Linked DNA regions of Homo sapiens: region 1 is linked to region 2. The links are contacts of gene promoters, found by promoter capture Hi-C in human tissues and cell types (Jung and others, 2019). All regions are on one chromosome and are shown on one strand. Each heading gives the region's core, a stretch centred on a gene start or on the middle of the fragment in contact. The rest is flanking DNA. Distances are from core to core; before and after follow the strand shown.

Region 1 (4,632 bases), core at 1,029-3,528, 1.1 Mb after region 2:
TAGGTTTTAAAGTAACTTTTACTTCTCAAGGAAATGAAATGGGAACAGCAGAATTGTGAGACCCCTGTAGAGGTCATGTTTGGACAAATATATCTTCATTTGTTAAATTGTGTACATGTTTACAGCAAGCCTGGCTTTCAGCAGCAGGCAGTGAATTCCTACTCAAATGTTTCCTTTACACAATCATTCTTAGCTTCCAAGTGAGCAAAAGGAAACTGCTATTTATTTTGAATTTGTTATTTAGCTTATTGTGACTAGATATATACCCAACTATAATTTTTTTAATTCTGTGGATTATTAAAAACAAGGTTTTGCCAATTTTCTTAGAAATGTAAAAAAAATGGGAAATAGAGAAAGTAGTGAGCTATGAGAGACAGGATGGGGGAGGCAGAAGGGAAAAAGAAATGAGAGGTTGTTCTCTGTAGTTAATGCATTTGTCTTAGAAGAAAATTTTAAAGAAGAAAAAAAGTGGCTTGCTTTAAGTACATGACAGGTGCCCAGATTTTATCTAATATTAAAAATCATGACGTGTCATATGGTTGTCAGGAATCTGAGATAATATTAACTTTTATTTCACGACAGTGCTCTGCCACTGCTGATTTTACATTTAACACAGAGTCCATTTCTTCATCTCCCCTTAAGAGCCAGCCAATTCAAGATTTATTGATTTGGTGTCAATCAAATATGGTTTATCTTCTCAGTCTTTGCCTTACCTAATTGTTGGCAGCCCTTGGAAGAGAGGATACTGTTAACCTTCGGAATGTGCATGAAGGCTTGGCGAGTGAGGTAGGAAAGGTTTAGCTGAGCCAGTTTGGTTGGAACACCAGTGCCCATTGAGAGAGAGTTCTAGGTCATGGTGCTTCATCTGCAGTGAGGGTGGCCAGAAAGAGATCCTCTAAAACTTCATACGCATCAGGAGATGCGAGAAGCGGTGATTACAATGCTGGGAAAAATGCCAGAACTGTATGTATGTGTGTGTGTGTGTGTGTGTGTGTGTGTGTTGGGGGGCGTGATATTGCAACCCTGGCATTTTGTAAAAAAAAAAAAAAAAAAGTGAAAATATATTTAACAGAATTAACAATCTCCTTGCTTCATGCTTTTCAAATGCTAATATTTGAAAAATGTATCGAATGTGAAGTTATGAAAAATATAAAAGTTAAATTAAAAATATGATTAAAATATACATTACTGGCCACTAAATCACATCTCTGTACTGTGCTGTTTGCTGTAACTCCGATCCTTTACTGTCTGAGACTACTACAGTCACCTGGAGTGGAATCCTCTAATGTGGCCACTCCAGTTGACCTTTGGTGTCTTCCTGTCATTTAGCAATCCTGTATAGACTTGGCATTACTATTGCCTCTCTGGCTGCTCATGATGGAGGGTCCAATTTCAGCAATTTTGATTTCTTTCCTAGGTATCCACAGAGATATGGTCATGTCCTCAGTCTCTCCTTCCCTTTCCAGTTGATACATGTGCTCGTGCTACAAGCTTTTCCAGCCAGGTCCTCCTTGGCTGTCTGTGTGATGATGAAGTGGGGTTAGAGGGAAGGATAAGAAAAAATTGGAGGAGATAGGGAACTGTAGGAGCTCAGTGATAAAGAATAACCCAAACAACTTGCAGTGGGATGTCAAGAGTGGTGGCGGGGCAGGTAGTGGAGCAGAAGAGAAGTCTATTTGAGAGAGAGAGATAAATGACCAAGTAAACTGCTTACCAATGTCTCCAACATTTACATGATGACAACAGAAGCATTGATGTTTCATTTTTTTTGTTTAAGAAATAGCAAGGTGAAAGGTGAAGGCCTTCAACCTTGGGTGCACACTGGGAAGCTTTAAAAATACTGAGTCTTGGGTCCCATCCATCAAGAGATACTGATTTACTTGGTTAGGATTGTTGCTCTATCATCAAAAGTTTATAACTCTTCCTGGAAGTTCTCATATTCTGCCAAGGTTGAGAACTACAGTTAAGTGAATACCAGGATTTGATTATAATCAGTAAATTATTTTTATTTTAACCAAAGAGAAAGAGGTTCATCTTTAAGAGGCATTTTTAAGGTACCAGACACAGTGGTGAATACTTATATTATTAACTTTTTAAAAAAATTATCATAGTAACATTGTGAAGTGGGGATAATCAACCTCTTCAATAGGTGAAGGAAGTGAGGCCTACAGAGAAGTAATTTGCCCAAGGTGACACAGTTTGTGGAGGTGAAACAACCAGCTGGGACTCAATCACAGGTCTTTGTGATTTGTCTTTTTCCTTATCTTTCCTTTAAGACCCAGTTGGGAATTATAGATAGGTATCATGGATTGCTTGAGGACCTAATATTTTTCATGCTTTATGTCTAGGAATAAGAAAAAATAAATTCTATGTGTTCTAATTACCATAACCCCCAAGATTGTCTAAAATTAGGAGCCAACAAATTATAACCCAGCATCTATTTTTTACACAACCTATGAAGAAAGAATGTTTTTCATCTTTTTAAATGGTTGAAAAAAATTAAGGAAGAATCTTTCATGACCTGTGAAAATGATATAAAATTATAAATTTGGTGACCACAAAGAAAGTCTTATTGAAACAAATTAATTTGCTTTTGTGTTGTCTATAGCTCCTTTCACATTATAATAGCAGGATCAATTTTGGCGGAGACCATTTTATGTCCAGCAAAACCTAAACTATTTACTATCTTTCCATTTACAGAAAAAGTTTATTGACTTTTTCTCTATATGAAAACCTTATAAATATAAATAAATAAAAAAGCTGATATATCCTGCAGAGAATTCCCTTTCACATTAAAAAATATTTAACAATACAAAACAATTTACAAGTTTCCTTTAAGGTATAAACTCCCCCAGTGACTTGAAATGTTGGTATGAAAATCATTACATGATCACTGTTCTCATCATTCCTTCTAAGAGATCAACTTTTTAAGATTCATATATGAGTGAGATCATGAAGTATTTGTTTTTCTGTGTCTGGTTTATTTCACTTAACATAGTAACCTCTAGATTCATACTTGTTGTTGCAAATAAAAGAATTTTGTTTTTAGTGGCTGATTACTATTCCATTATATATTTATACTACATTTTCTTTATTCATTCATCTATTGTTGGACACTTAGGTTGATTCCAAAGGTTATTATGTGTCAATTAGAAATTAAAATTAGGTGACCCTGGGGGTCAGTTCTTAGAGAAATATAAAGCCAAAGTACCATGAACCATTATTCACTGATTGATCATAGGAAAATGTAAAACCTTTGCAGTTCACATCACTAACAACTGAATATTTATTGTAGTAACTCCATTCACTTTTAGTTTTACTTGTGAATTAAGCAAATCACTGCATAGTTCTGTTTCTATTTTTGGCATCATATAGCTTTTACCAAAATTTCTATTTTCTTAAATATTGTTGTATACATTAATTTTTTTTCTGAAATGCATCATCAGTAATATGCTGTCTTTAGTGGAGCAACTATACCAAGAGTTTCTCAACATGTGTTCCTTCAAGCACATGCATGAGAATCACAGATCATGCTTGTTTTAAATAGAGATTCCAGGGTTATAGGCCAGACCAACTGATTCAGAATTTCTGAGGGGTGGGTTCAAGGTTTTGCCTTTCAACAAGCTCACCAGGTAAATCTCATGCACCTTGTAGACTGAGAATTTCATGCTACATCATGGGTGAGAATATTCGCAACCATACTAGAGGCATAAATTTGGAGGAGTATGCAAACAGGGTGTAGAGACTCCTGCAGAGAAGTAGAGTTATATCAGGTCTCTGTATCCTCATGTGGTGTGATTGGAAGCTAATATGAAAGCAATCTTGCTAATAAGAAGTAGAATCACCCAAGGGGGCAAAGAAATAATAGAGATGAGGAAACTCGTTAAAATAATGGAAGCTAAGATGGAAAGCTGCTAGTTTTCTTCTGCTTCATGAGCATATGGTTGATCTTAAGGCCACCCGCCTTCCTGGCACCCCTTCTTCATTGTGGAAATGGCAAACTGTGCCAGGCATTTATATTTGCTCCTCCAGATTCAACTGTATCCCTTTCTACCTTTTCCGTTAGCCACCTGGGGAGGCTGAGCTGTATTGACTACTATGAGAGGCTCTTCCCTCTGGCTTCTGGTGGGGTTTTCAGTGAAGTGCCTCAGCAGAAAATGAGAGGTAGGGAGGAGAGTGGGACTCTCTAACTGTGAAGCTAGCTCTATGTCAGTAGACTGAAAGTTATTGCTCTACTCAAGGTGGCCTTTTCTACATGATGCTCCACTGTCAGGTTGTATTATACACTTTTCCATTGTTCTCTTTGGTCTAAAGATAGTAATAGCTCTGTGGTTGCTAACCCCAGGTTAACTACATTTGTGTGTGTGTGTGTGTGTTTTCCTAGAATCTGCTGACTTGTTTATAAATTTGAAACCATCCTTATGACATCAGTTTTCTGTTTGGACCCTACTGAAACAGGAACCCAATGTTACATGTCAGAGTCCAAAAGGAGAGGAGGCATCATTTTCTCAGTGAGCAAAGTTTTATTTTATCAGTATGACAAGCTCGTTATTGTCTTGGAACCCTCTGACGTTCTATTCTTTCTGCTCAAGACTCTGTTCCCATGATTTGTTTGTCTAGCTAATTCCTGGT
Region 2 (4,532 bases), core at 306-2,805:
ACCCTTGATGGAATCCACTCTCCACACTTTGCACAAGAAAATGGTGAATTAACCTGTTCAATGTCAACTACTTATCAAAGTTAGAGTGCGAGACCTGGATTCAAAATGATTTTTTTGCTTTTTGTATGAACTGGGGTCCAAATTTTTTCAAAGTACACGTAAAAAATTTAGATATATGAAGTTTGCATTAGCAATTCCATTTATTCTAAGAACGATTAAAGCAAACTTTTTTTTTAAAAAGCGGTCCCCTAAAAAAAAGTATGGGCTTTGTAAGCAAAAAACAGAAATTCAAAAACCACCTAGTCCCATAATACTAACTTTTTTATAGACTCTTAGAAAGTTATCTAACCTTTTTTGAGCCTCTGTAGTCTTAACTATAAAATGAGGGTAATAGTACCTTTACGACAGGTTTAAAAAGATTGCGAGGATCATATAACTGGCGTTCAAAAAACTGACTTTTCCTTTTCCTCCTAACCCAGGGTCATAGTGGTCACACTTTAGGCAATCAATTAGATTGGATGACATGATATCTTGTACTCCTAACTTCAAGTCATCCTTCCGTCTTAGCCTCCCAAAGTGCTGGGATTACAGGTGTGAGCGCCTGACCTTTTGCCATCTCTTTGCATCGATCTTTGCTTTTGTTTCTCTCTGTGTGTCTCCTTGCCTCTCTCCCTGTCACTGTCTCTCTCTCTCCCCTGCCTCCCTCTTGGTCTCTTTTTTTTGCTGTCTCTTTCTGATGACCTTGTTCCCATCTCTGTGCGTGTGTGGCTCTCTCCCTGTCCATCTCTTACCATCTCTGCCTTCCTCTCCCAGGTCTTAAACGAATATTTCCACAATGTCTGTGAACTGGACCTGGTGTTCAACTTCTACAAGGTAGGCTCCTGGTGAAGAGGAGGCTGAAGGAGCCCGAGGAGTGGGACGTGGGGGACCCGTGGTGCACTAGCCACCCGGAGCCTCTGCTGAGGTCTGTGTCCCAGCTCGAGGGGCATCAGAGCCCCAGCTTCCAGGGTCCGGGCCAGCATCCCGGGGGGCCTCGTCTCACCCACGTCAACTCGTTATTCCTAGGTGGAATGTTTCCCACTTAAGAGCCCAGTGGTCCCGGAAAGTAAAGAGATCGGAAGTCAGGTGGACGGACAGAGTCGGATGGAGCAAAGAAGCCCGGCACACACCAACAGAGAGAACGACATAGCGCGGGAAGGAGGGTCCGAGGAGACACATTCCAAACCCGGAAAGGGAAATTTGGAATTTAGGTTTAGGGTAAGGAGAGATTAAATAGAGCTGGGATACCGGGTTTCTACCCTGGGAGATGAATACGCTCAAGCTGGCTGGACAAGACACCTTATGACAATACAGTGAACGCACGTCACTCCTTACCTGTTGCCTAAGTCCACGGCCACAGCTCGAGACCCTGCGCTACTCCATAGTGCTCGCACTTGCAACTGGGTGAGTGCCCGATCCCGCCGTGGCAGAAGGAAAGGACCATCGCTCAGGGGCCGGAGCCGGAGGCACGAGCAGCAGTACCTGCAGGCCGCCATGACACCCGGCACGCGGTCAACGCAGGCTGTGCCCTGATTGGCTCACTCCGCAGACCGTGGGGCGGAGCCTGATGGAGTTTCGTTTCCGCGGTGCCCGAGGGACGCCGGGGTAACGGAAACCTTGGCCACCTTCTACGAAGACTAGAGAGGGTCAAACCTATCAGAACGCGATTATGTTGCAAACGATCTTTGTCTTTATGTGCCAACGAAAGGCAATTAGATAAATAAGGTTTTTGTGTGTGTACTATCGTAATTTAAAGGAGAAGTCCTAGAATAATGTAAATGTTTAATATGCAGAGTAAATTTATATTTACTTTTAATACTAGAAGTCATAGAACAACACATTATTATTATTTGGATCTGTGAACTAAGAATTAGAATTTGGGTGGTGGGCCTTGGAAAGAGATCTCCTTCTCCCCTTCTCCGCCCTGGTTTTTATTTTAAAAATTTCACATAGCAGATATGTTACTACAGCGATTTGTGTTAACCAATTTACAGTAAATTCATTTTTCATCGACTTGTAATTTTAGAAATCTTTATTGTCACTTCTGATTCATTTTCATTTCCATTGCTAATAATTAGCAATTTATATTTCTGTCCCTTTTGGTCGAACTCTTAAATGCAAAATGCCAGCTACTGTTTGAAGTAAATATTTTGTAAAATGAAAAAAAAAAGTTTTTGGGATTTGAAAAATTTTTAGAGAATGGATAAATTTCTTCCACCCCATTAATCCATTCTGTTAGAAATTCTTTATGTTTTTCCTTGAATGAACCAATGGGCATTTTCATATTATGATGTAAATTTTTTGTGTAAGGTGATAACCGCCTTACCCCAAAGAAAACCAAACAACAAAAACCCAACACTCATTCAAACACAGTTTTAAGAATTAAAAACGTTGGCTGGACGCTGTGGCTCACGCCTGTAATCCCAGCACTTTGGGAGGCCGAGGCGGGCGGATCACCTGAGTTCGAGACCAGCCTGACCAACACAGAGAAACCCCGTCTCTACTAAAAATACAAAACTAGCCGGGCATGGTGGCTTATGCCTGTAATCCCAGCTACTCGGGAGGCTGAGGCAGGGGAATCGCTTGAACCCGGGAGGCGGAGGTTGCAGTGAGCCGAGATCGCGTCATTGCAACAAGAGTGAAACTCGGTCTCAAAAAAAAAAAAAAAAAAAAAAAAAAAAAAAGTCCGGGCGCAGTGGCTCATGCCTGTAATCCCAGCACGCTGGGAGGCAGAGGCGGGTGGATCACGAGGTCAAGAGACCCAGGGCATCCTGGCCAACATGCTGAAACCGCGTCTCTACTAAAAATACAAAAATTAGCTCGGTGTGGTGGCGCGTGCCTGTAATCCCAGCTACTCCAGAGGCTGAGGCATGAGAATCGCTTGAATCCAGGAGGCGGAGGTTGCAGTGAGCCGAGATCGCGCCACTGCACTCCAGACCGAGACTCCATCTAAAAAAAAAAAAAAAAAAAAAAAAAATTAAAAATGTTGATCCGTGATGATTTAAAAAAGAAAAAAGAATGATGAGCTCTAAACAGACAAATGATTTGCTGGCAAAGCAGTTTTCTGACACCTTGCTTTCATGAGCTATTATTACTGATTTGGGATTTCCATTCCAATAGAGGGATTACCATTAACTTTGTTTACAGATTTTTAGTGTTAAAGCAGTTTTTGCGTCTCCTCCCTTTTACTTTACCTTGAGTTGCCACAGAGTTTTCCAGACCAATCTATTGAAATCTCTCATGAAGATAAATCTCTCAGAAAACCTACTTGCCACAATTGAACATGACTTTTGATTTATAGAGTAAGAATACAAAATCATCTTTTTGTTAATATACTTAATTACTATGTAATCATTTTCATTTGGGCAGTATTGCCTAATAGTTTAGAGCATAGACTTGGAGTTAGTCCCAGCTGGTTCCAATCTTGTCTCTGTTAATTACCAGTTGTGTGACTCTAGCTCTCTGAGCCTCAGTTTCCCCATAAAAACAGATAGTAATATGAATCTAATAGGGTTTTTGTAAGGATTAAAAGTGTCGGCCGGGCGCGGTGGCTCACGCCTGTAATCCTAGCACTTTGGGAGGCCGAGGCGGGTGGATCATGAGGTCAGGAGATTGAGACCATCCTGGCTAACAAGGTGAAACCCCGTCTCTACTAAAAATACAAAAAATTAGCCGGGCGCGGTAGCGGGCGCCTGTAGTCCCAGCTACTCGGGAGGCTGAGGCAGGAGAATGGCGTGAACCCGGGAAGCGGAGCTTGCAGTGAGCCGAGATTGCGCCACTGCAGTCCGCAGTCCGGCCTGGGCGACAGAGCGAGACTCCGTCTCAAAAAAAAAAAAAAAAAAAAAAGTGTCAGATGATATAATAGTACCTAGCACATTGTCAACACTCAATAAATGGTAAATTTAGCTTTCATCCAGCCTTTTCGTTTTTTTCAAGACAGAGTTTTGCTCTTGTTGCCCAGGCTAGAGTGCAGTGGCGTGATCTCAGCTCACTGCAACCTCCGCCTCCGGGGTTCAAGTGATTCCCCTTCCTCAGCCCTCCCAAATAGCTGGGATTACAGGTGCCTGCCACCATGCCTGGCTAATTTTTTGGATTTTTAGTAGAGATGGGGTTTCATCATGTTGGCCAGGTTGGTCTTGAACTCCTGACCTCAGGCAATCCACCCGCCACGGCCTCCCAAAGTGCTGGGATTACAGGCATGAGCCACCGCGCCCAGGCTTATCCAGACTTTTCTTAATTCTTCCTCCAGTTTCCAGGTATTCTGAACATTTTTCTCTTCTTCAGAACTCCTTGAACTCCTTGAATCGGTTAGCTTTTATCCAGCCAGAAGTGATGGAAAGCAGCATTTACCTATTAAGAATCCCCCACCCCCATTTCCTCACACAAATCTGATATAATTCAAATAGTAGTAATTGGATAGTAAACTCAAAAGCAAATGTAGGCACTAAAATCTTGCAGCAGAGCTTTATTATGAAGATATAGATGATACAGAA

The links. The method cuts DNA at HindIII sites, captures the fragments that hold promoters and counts their contacts. A contact is called where the count stands out against the background at its distance.
Region 1: a contact is called between a fragment that was not itself captured here and the fragment with the promoter of PNPT1 in region 2, in 1 of the 25 tissues and cell types used here (dorsolateral prefrontal cortex).

The regions. Positions count from the first base shown.
Region 1 is chr2:56,742,711-56,747,342 of GRCh38, forward strand. No RefSeq gene overlaps it. Among named protein-coding and RNA genes, the nearest start is that of CCDC85A, 560 kb to the left of the region's middle. The HindIII fragment of the contact is 4,990 bases long and covers 1-4,632 here.
Region 2 is chr2:55,692,289-55,696,820 of GRCh38, forward strand. PNPT1 (polyribonucleotide nucleotidyltransferase 1) reads right to left here and starts at 1,556. Exons shown (of 28, transcript NM_033109.5): 1 at 1,375-1,556. The coding sequence starts at 1,535. RefSeq lists a silencer at 746-805 and enhancers at 1,376-1,495, 1,506-1,565, 1,596-1,745. The HindIII fragment of the contact is 13,131 bases long and covers 1-4,532 here.